Linked DNA regions of Homo sapiens: regions 1 and 3 are each linked to region 2. The links are contacts of gene promoters, found by promoter capture Hi-C in human tissues and cell types (Jung and others, 2019). All regions are on one chromosome and are shown on one strand. Each heading gives the region's core, a stretch centred on a gene start or on the middle of the fragment in contact. The rest is flanking DNA. Distances are from core to core; before and after follow the strand shown.

Evidence for each region. Contacts are between HindIII fragments. The study calls those that stand out against the background at their distance.
Region 1: a contact is called between a fragment that was not itself captured here and the fragment with the promoter of OLFML2A in region 2, in 1 of the 25 tissues and cell types used here (lymphoblastoid cells).
Region 3: a contact is called between a fragment that was not itself captured here and the fragment with the promoter of OLFML2A in region 2, in 1 of the 25 tissues and cell types used here (dorsolateral prefrontal cortex).

The regions. Positions count from the first base shown.
Region 1 is chr9:125,329,556-125,332,255 of GRCh38, reverse strand. GAPVD1 (GTPase activating protein and VPS9 domains 1) reads right to left here. Exons shown (of 28, transcript NM_001282680.3): 13 at 2,038-2,178; 14 at 196-330. Among named protein-coding and RNA genes, the nearest start is that of GAPVD1, 69 kb to the right of the region's middle. The HindIII fragment of the contact is 9,933 bases long and covers 1-2,700 here.
Region 2 is chr9:124,775,880-124,778,630 of GRCh38, reverse strand. It overlaps OLFML2A (olfactomedin like 2A), which reads right to left and starts at 1,498. Exons shown (of 8, transcript NM_182487.4): 1 at 1,271-1,498. The coding sequence starts at 1,360. RefSeq lists silencers at 1,125-1,424, 1,495-1,594. The HindIII fragment of the contact is 24,652 bases long and covers 1-2,751 here.
Region 3 is chr9:125,739,649-125,742,348 of GRCh38, reverse strand. No RefSeq gene overlaps it. Among named protein-coding and RNA genes, the nearest start is that of PBX3-DT, 4.9 kb to the left of the region's middle. The HindIII fragment of the contact is 6,270 bases long and covers 1-2,700 here.

The DNA.
Region 1 (2,700 bases), core at 57-2,556, 550 kb before region 2:
CCAATTACTTCAACAGGCTCCATAAGGCCACACATTAAGTTCTCAAAGATTTCAGGTGCAATGGAAATAAGTTTGTTTTCTGGAAATTACTCAGCTCTTAAATATAACATATCTTTTTGTATCAACTTTATAAATAGGAGGGGGTAGGGGGTGAACACCTTCAAATCCCTACTCCTTAAAACAAGACAGACATACCGGACACAACACTGAGGCCTGGTGTGCTGGGGCGGGAACTGACCTCCCTGACATCCGTATCATCAGATGTGCTACCCAGTCCAGAACAGCTCTCCAGTTCTTGCAGACGCTCCTCCTGCTTTAGGTCTGGGGCCTCTAAATAGAAGATAAGAGGTATGTTACATTTGTGATTCTCTTAGCACACCACAATTTCAGCTTTTGTGACCCAGATAAACAAAGCTACCAGGGCATGAATAAAATCAGTGCAAATACATGTGTAAGTCTGGACTAGTTAATGCTAGTTAGATTAAGTGTTAAGTCAAAGTTGTGATTTTCATCCCAATATAAGCCAGTTCACTGTGCACAGATGAAAACGTGGTTCTAGATCACTAATGTCACAGAGTATGCTATTGATTAACATGTGAACTGGACAAGAGAGTATGGAATAGCCTGGTATTAAATCAACCACTTCCTAAAAAGTAACTCCTATGAATACTCAACAGCTGGTAAGCTAATCCTATTGTCCCCAACTGGTCTTCAAACAAGGCTAGCATATCTGAATGCTTTAACATTATAAAACAGGCCAGCCGTGGTAGCTCACACCTGTAATCCCAGCACTTTGGGAGGTCGAGGCCGGCAGATCACCTGAGGTCAGGAGTTCGAGACCAGCATGCCCAACACGGTGAAATCCCATCTCTACTAAAAATACAAAAACTAGCTAGGCGTGGTGGCAGGTGCCTGTAATCCCAGCTACTTGGGAGGCTGAGGCAAAAGAATCACTTGAACCCAGGAGGCAGAGATTGCACTGAGCCGTGATTGCACCACTGCACTCCAGCCTGGGTGACAGAGTGAGACTCCATCTCAAAAAAAAAAAAAATTATAAAACACATATCAGGATCACTTAATAATTCTTGAACCAAGTAAATCAACAGAATGTAATGCAGATACACAGTTACTTATATTTACATTCTGGTAGTTGACATTTAGTTGAAAGCAAAGATGCGTCTTCATAATCAGAAAAAAATGCAATGCATATGAAAAGACAAAGTACAAAACACTTTATATACATTTATAATAACCTGCACAAAAAAAAAATCCTCAGGATTACAGAATCTCAATTTCAACGTATTTCAAAAACACATTAAGCATGTTTTAGAGAGTCAAGTTCTCCCCTGTGATAAATCTAAATGTGTTTACCAAGCAAGCACTCAGTTTGAACTGTGTTGCTACTCTTATCCTGTCATGAGTTTGTGGAAGATACTAAATTCAATGATTCACACGGACTCTGATAATCACAGAAAATTGCTTTCAAAATAACTCAACACAGAGTCTGAAAGCACCTGCCATCACAGTCTATGCTATCTAACAGAGCATTTTCCCTTAATGGACAGAAAATGCCCTAAACTAATTTTCCATTTGACATTCTTAGCAATGTGATCACCTCATCTTTGTCAAATGTATAACTGGCTGGGCATGATGGCTCATGCCTGTAATTCCAGCACTTCGGGAGGCCAAGGTGGGCAGATCACCTGAGGTCAGTAGTTCAAGACCAGCCTGGCCAACATGGTGAAACCCTGTTTCTCTAAAAATACAAAAATTACCCGGCATGGTGGGGCATGTCTGTAATCCCAGCTACTCAGGAGGCTGAGGCGAGAAGACTGCTTGAACCCAGGAGGCAGAGGTTGCAGTAAGTTGGGATCGCGCCACAGCACTCCAGCCTGGGTAAAAGAGCAAGACTCCATCTCCATTAAAAAAAAAAAAAAAGTGTATTTGACAAAATATACATAATACAGAGTTGGGATACCTTGCATTTAATTAAAACTTCTGTATAAATGAAAAAGCAAACAATGACAGCATACTAACCTGAGTCACTTGGCAATACCTCTACACTCCAAGCTTCACTTGTTGTCTCTGATATGGTAGAACCAGTGCAGGGGTCAAGAAGCACTGACCCTGAACCTGGGAGGCACAGCAAACTGCCTAACATGTTCTCTGCTGCAGCACCTGTATAACCAGTGGGAAGCAAAGGGTTAACAAAGATCCTGGAGGAAAGTGCAGTGATAGTGGAGAAAAGCCAAACACTAGCTAACAAAATCTCCTGGCTGGGCGCGGTGGCTCACACCTGTAATCCCAGCACTTTGGGAGGCTGAGGCAGGCAGATCACTTGAGGCCAGGAGTTCAACACCAGCCTGGCCAACATGGCGAAACCCCGTCTCTACTGAAAATACAAAAATTAGCCAGGTATGGTGGCGTGCACCGGTAGTCTCAGCTACTTGGGAAGCTGAGGCACAAGAACCCGGGAGGCAGAGGTTGCAGGGGGTGCAGAGACTGCAGTGAGCCGAGGTCATGCCATTGCCCTCCAACCTGGTCAATGTGAGTGAGACCCTGTCTCAAAAATAAAAATGGCCGTGTCATTTTGGGACTTTGTCTCAAAAAAAAAAAAAAAACCACCAAATTCCTCTCTACCTACAAGAAAGAGGCCAAAGTAAGAATAACTTCAATCAAGCACACCACTAAAAACACAAG
Region 2 (2,751 bases), core at 249-2,748:
TTTTTTTATAGAGACGGGGTCTCACTCTGTTGCCTAGACTGGTCTTGTGCCACTGCGCCCAGCTAATTTTTGTATTTTTAGTAGAGATGGGGTTTCACCATATTGGCCAGGCTGGTCCTGAACTCCTGGCCTCAAGCGATCCACCTGCCTTGGCCTCCCAAAGTGCTAGGATTACAGGTGTGAGCCACTGAACCTGGCCATCAGGGAGTCATTTCCAGAACACCCCAAGTGCTCTGGTGCTAAGTATTTTTTTTTTTTCTTTTTTTTTTTGACACGGAGTCTCGCTCTGTCGCCCAGGCTGGAGTGCAGTGGCGCGATCTCGGCTCACTGCAAGCTCCGCCTCCCGGGTTCACGCCATTCTCCTACCTCAGCTTCCGGAGTAGCTGGGACTACAGGCGCCCACCACCATGCCTGGCTACTTTTTTTTGTATTTTTAGTAGAGACGGGGTTTCACCGTGTTAGCCAGGATGGTCTCGATCTCCTGACCTTGTGATCCGCCCGTCTCGGCCTCCCAAAGTGCTGGGATTACAGGCGTGAGCCACCGCGCCCGGCCTAGTGCTAAGTACTTTACAGGCATGACCACACCGCATCTAGAGACCATCAACTGCAGGAAGTGGGTCCCATGATTCTCCCTGTATCTACAGGTGAATAGACGGAGGCTCAGATGGGCGATGGCGGATGAGAAGCGGATGTGCGACTGAACCCAGGTCGGCTTGACACCAGAGCAGATCCTCTTAGCCACAGCAGAGAACAGCTCAGACCACTTCTGGAGCTACCTAGTCCTCCAGGGGGTGCACCCGGTCCCTGGCAAGAACATCAGAGGCCAGGCGAGTGGCCAGCGCGGCTGCGTTCATCGGGTAGAGAAGACCCCCAGTCCCCAGCGGGCCGTGAAAGCCGTGGCCCAGGGCTTGCTGCAAGCCTGGGAGTCGTTGGGTAACAGTTGCCAGGAGCTTCCCCTACGAACCCCGAGTCTGGCCAGCACTCCGGGGAAATCCCCCGACCCCTCCGGGAATCGGACCCGGTCCCAGCGCCCCTTCCTCAGGCCCCGGGTCCCTAGCATCCCTACATCTCCAGCGCTTGTTCCTCCACGCGCCCCTCTCTCGGGGCCCCTGCCCCTGCGGCTTCAGTGCTGAGAAGTCCCAGGTTCGGTCTCTCAGCTCCCGGCTCCTCCGCCCTGGCCCCGGGCTCCCTCCCGGGCCGCACCCCAGCCACAGCGCCCCCTCGCGCCCCGCTACCCGCCGAGCCGCGCGGGTCCGAGGGGCGTGCGTACCTTACTGTCGGCGCGCGTGGGGCGGCCGCTCAGCAGCAGCACTAGCGGCAGAAGGAGCAGCGGCCGGGGCGGGAGGGCGGCAGCGGCCATGGCGCCACGGGCACGGTAGGCACAGGCGGCCGGGCACGGACGCTGGGAAGCGCGGGCTGCACTGCGAGCTCCGCGCCTTCGCCCGCTCTGCCTGCCCCGCGCCCCGCGCCTGCACCCTGCTGCCAGCCCCGCGGGTCTTCCAGCGCCGCCAGGGGCGGAGCTAGGGCGGAGGGGGCACCCCGCCCCGCCCCGCCCGCCGTTCGCGGGGCCTCCCCGTCGTCGGGCGGCTCTCCCAAGGGCATCCCTGCCCGCGCGCCAGGGTGGGTCTCGATCGCAGCCGGCAGGAGCAACGGGGCCAGGGCGAGGCGCGTGGGCTCCTCTCACGGACTCAGGTCCTGTCCTGTGAGTCGTGGGACCTTGGGCGTGTCCCTTCACCTGTGTGCCTCAGTTTCCTCATCTGTAAGATGGGGGACTCGTGCTTTCCTTTTGGAGTGTTTGTAAAGTTCGCATGAGAGACGGATGTTCCCAGGGCACGTGAGCCCTTGCGCTCTCCGATTTCACCCACTTCTGGACAGGGACCTGACTGCTGTAAGCCTTCCCAAGGCTCAGCAACCCCAACCTGTCTTCCGTCTTTCATTTCTCCTTCCCTCTGGAATCCCTCCTGTCGGCTCCCAAACTCCAGTAGCTTCCGGCTTTTAAATTTTTATTTTTCTCACTCTGTTGCCCAGGCCGTAGTGCAGTGGTGCGATCCCAGCTCACTACAGCCTTGACCTTCCCAGCTCAAGTGATCCTCCCACCTCAGCCTCCTGAGTAGCTGAAACTACAGGTGTGCACCACTACACCTGGCTAATTTAAAGTTTTTTTTTTTTTTGCAGAGACGGGGTCTCACTCTGTTGCCTAGACTGGTCTTGAACTTCTGGGCTCAAGCAATCCTCCCACCTTGGCCTCCGAAAGTGTTGAGATTACAGGCATGAGCCACTGCACCCAGCATTTCCTTTTTTTTTTTTGACTGGGTCTTCCTTTGTCACCCAGGCTGGAGTGCTGTGTTGCGAATACAGCTCACTGTATCGTCAACTTTCCAGCTCAAGCTATCCTCCTCCCTCAGCCTTCTGAATAACTTGGACTACAGGCATGTGCCACCATGCTGGCTAATTTCTGTATTTATTTTAGGGATGGGGTCTTCTGTGTTGCCCAGGCTCTCAAACTCCCGGGCTCAAGCAATCCAGCCACCCTAGTCTCTCAAAGTGTTGGGATTACAAGTGTGAGCCACCATGCTTGGTCTCATTTTCTTCATAGAATTTATTGCTCAATGGGACTGTCTTTCTTGTTGGTGTGTTTGTTTCCTTGTGTTGGAGCATGACTTCCTAGGGCACATTCTTAGTTTCTCCCCATGAACATTGAACTCAGTGGTTCTCAAAGTGTGGTCCTTGGTCTCAGCCTCCGCATCATCG
Region 3 (2,700 bases), core at 131-2,630, 960 kb before region 2:
CTCGCTATGGTGCTCAGGCTGCGTTCAAACTCCTGGCCTCAAGGGATCATCCCACCTCAGCATCTCGAAGTACTGGGATTACAGGCATGAGCCACTGCACCCAGACAGGAATGACTCTTTAGAATTGGTCTTTACAGTTGATAGCACATGTGACATATGACCAACGTTTATCTTCTAAGGATGGATTTGATTGAGTTACCAAAGATTTAGTGGGATAACAGTCCATCCTTCTAAAGTGATGCCTTTAAAAGAGAATATTTATCAGAATGTATAATTTCTAGAAAAATTTGGTAGAATGCTCCCTCTCTTATGTCCCTTCATAGCACCCAGTACGGTGCAGTTTCATACAGAATAGACAGTTGGGGCCGACATGACCAGTTGTTGGCCTGCCATCCATTGGCTTACTTCCTTCTACACCAATAGAAGCCTGATTTTATTCTGAAGACAATGTGCTCAGTCCCAATCAAGGTCTAAAACAAGTATGAGCATCCTGTCCCCTGCCTTCTGAGCCTGTCAGGAGGAGGGGTGACCTTGCTAATTTTTTAAAAAAGGGACAGATAGGCCAGGCGTGCTGGCTCATGCCTGTAATCCCAGCAATTTGGCCACTGCACTCCAGCCTGGGCAAAGAACGAGACCCTGTCTCAGAAAAAGAAAAAAAAGGGGACAGACATGGCTCTTCTCTCCTTCATTTTCCTGGCTCTTTCCATCTTTGAAAGTAGTCCTGAATCTGGAGTGCTCATAGCAGCCACCTGTGATAGTGAAATGAAAATATGAAGACAAAATCAACATGGTTTGGTGGTTTATATCTGTGGTCTTCCTCCCAAAGCTTGTAATCCCAGACCAATAATTAGAAAAATATTACACAAATACTAATTGAAGGACATTCTACAAAATACCTGGCCAGTAATTTCTCTGGTCTTTGTACTCCTTGTAACTGTCAAGGTCATAAAGAGTAAGAAAAGTTGAAAAACTGTCACAACCAAGAAGAGCCTAAGGAGAAATGAGGACTGGATGTAATCTAGCATTCTGGATGGGATCCTGGAACAGAAAAGGGATATTAGGTAAAAACTATGGAAATTTGGCCAGGCGCGGTGGCTCACGCCTGTAATCTCAGCACTTTGGGAGGCCGAGACAGGCGGATCATGAGGTCAGGAGATCGAGACCATCCTGGCTAATACAGTGAAACCCCGTCTCTACTAAAAAAATTTTTTAAAAAAATTAGCCGGGCGTGGTGGCTGGCGCCTGTAGTCCCAGCTACTCGGGAGGCTGAGGCAGGAGAATGGCGTGAACCCAGAAGGCAGAGCTTGCAGTGAGCCCAGATGGCGCCGCTGCACTCCAGCCTGGGCAACAGAGCGAGACTCCGTCTCAAGAAAAAAAAAAAAAACTATGGAAATTTGAATAAAGTATACACTTCAGTTAGTGATAACATTTCACATTGGTTCATTAATTTCAAAAAGTACCATATTAATGTGAGATGTTAATAATAGAGGAAATAGTGTATGGGATATTAGGGAACTCTCTGTACCACCTTCTAAATTTTTTTTTCTTTTTTTTTTTTTTTTGAGACGGAGTCTCGCTCTGTCGCCCAGGCTGGAGTGCAGTGGCGCAATCTCGGCTCACTGCAAGCTCCACCTCCTGGATCCACGCCATTCTCCTGCCTCAGCCTCCGGAGTAGCTGGGACTACAGGCACCCACCACCACGCCTGGCTAATTTTTTGTATTTTCAGTAGAGGTAGGGTTTCACCGTGTTAGCCAGGATGGTCTCGATCTCCTGACCTCATGATCCACCCACCTCGGCCTCCCAAAGTGCTGGGATTACAGGCATGAGCCACCGCATCCGGCCCCACCACCTTCTAATTTTTATCTGTAAATACTTTAAAAAAAAACATTCAGGGCCAGGAGCGGTGGCTCACGCCTGTAATCCCAGCACTTTGGGAGGCTGAGGCGGGTGAATCACGAGGTCAGGAGATCGAGACCATCCTGGCTAACACGGTGAAACCCCGTCTCTACTAAAAATACAAAAAAATTAGCCAGGCATGGTGGCAGCCGGCTGTAGTCCCAGCTACTCGGGAGGCTGAGGCAGGAGAATGACGTCGACCTGGGAGGTGGAGCTTGCAGTGAGCCGAGACTGAGCCACTGCACTCCAGCCTGGGTGACAGAGCGAGACTCTGTCTCAAAAAAAAAAAAAATAAGTAAATAAAATAAAACATTCATTCAAAACAAAAATAAACATGGTAAGTGGGGTAGAAAGATAAGGAGAGCCTAGGTGTCTGCAGACATGGTCCAACATCTGAGCCAAAGAAGCAACTGCTTTCCCTTGGATTTCTAGTTTTGTGAGTAAATTCATCTCCTGTTTTAAAATCCTATTGGCTGGGTTTTCTGTATCTTGCAGAAAAGCTGATATAGCACTATAAACACTTATATGACAGATGTATGTGTGGATGGATGGATGGATGGATGGATGGATGGATGGATGGACTGATGGATGGATGGATGGAATAGCCTAGCACAATGCCCGACACATAGTAGGAGCTCCTAGAGTGGGGGAGATGATGTATGATAAAAAAAAAAATTCCTCTCGTCTTTGTATTGGATTCCTGGGAGGTAACATCTAAAACCCTTGAAATCTCCCAAGCTATAAGAGTGTTTTTATTATTCATGAGGCCCTTAGATCACATCTAATTTTATGCTAAAGTGATG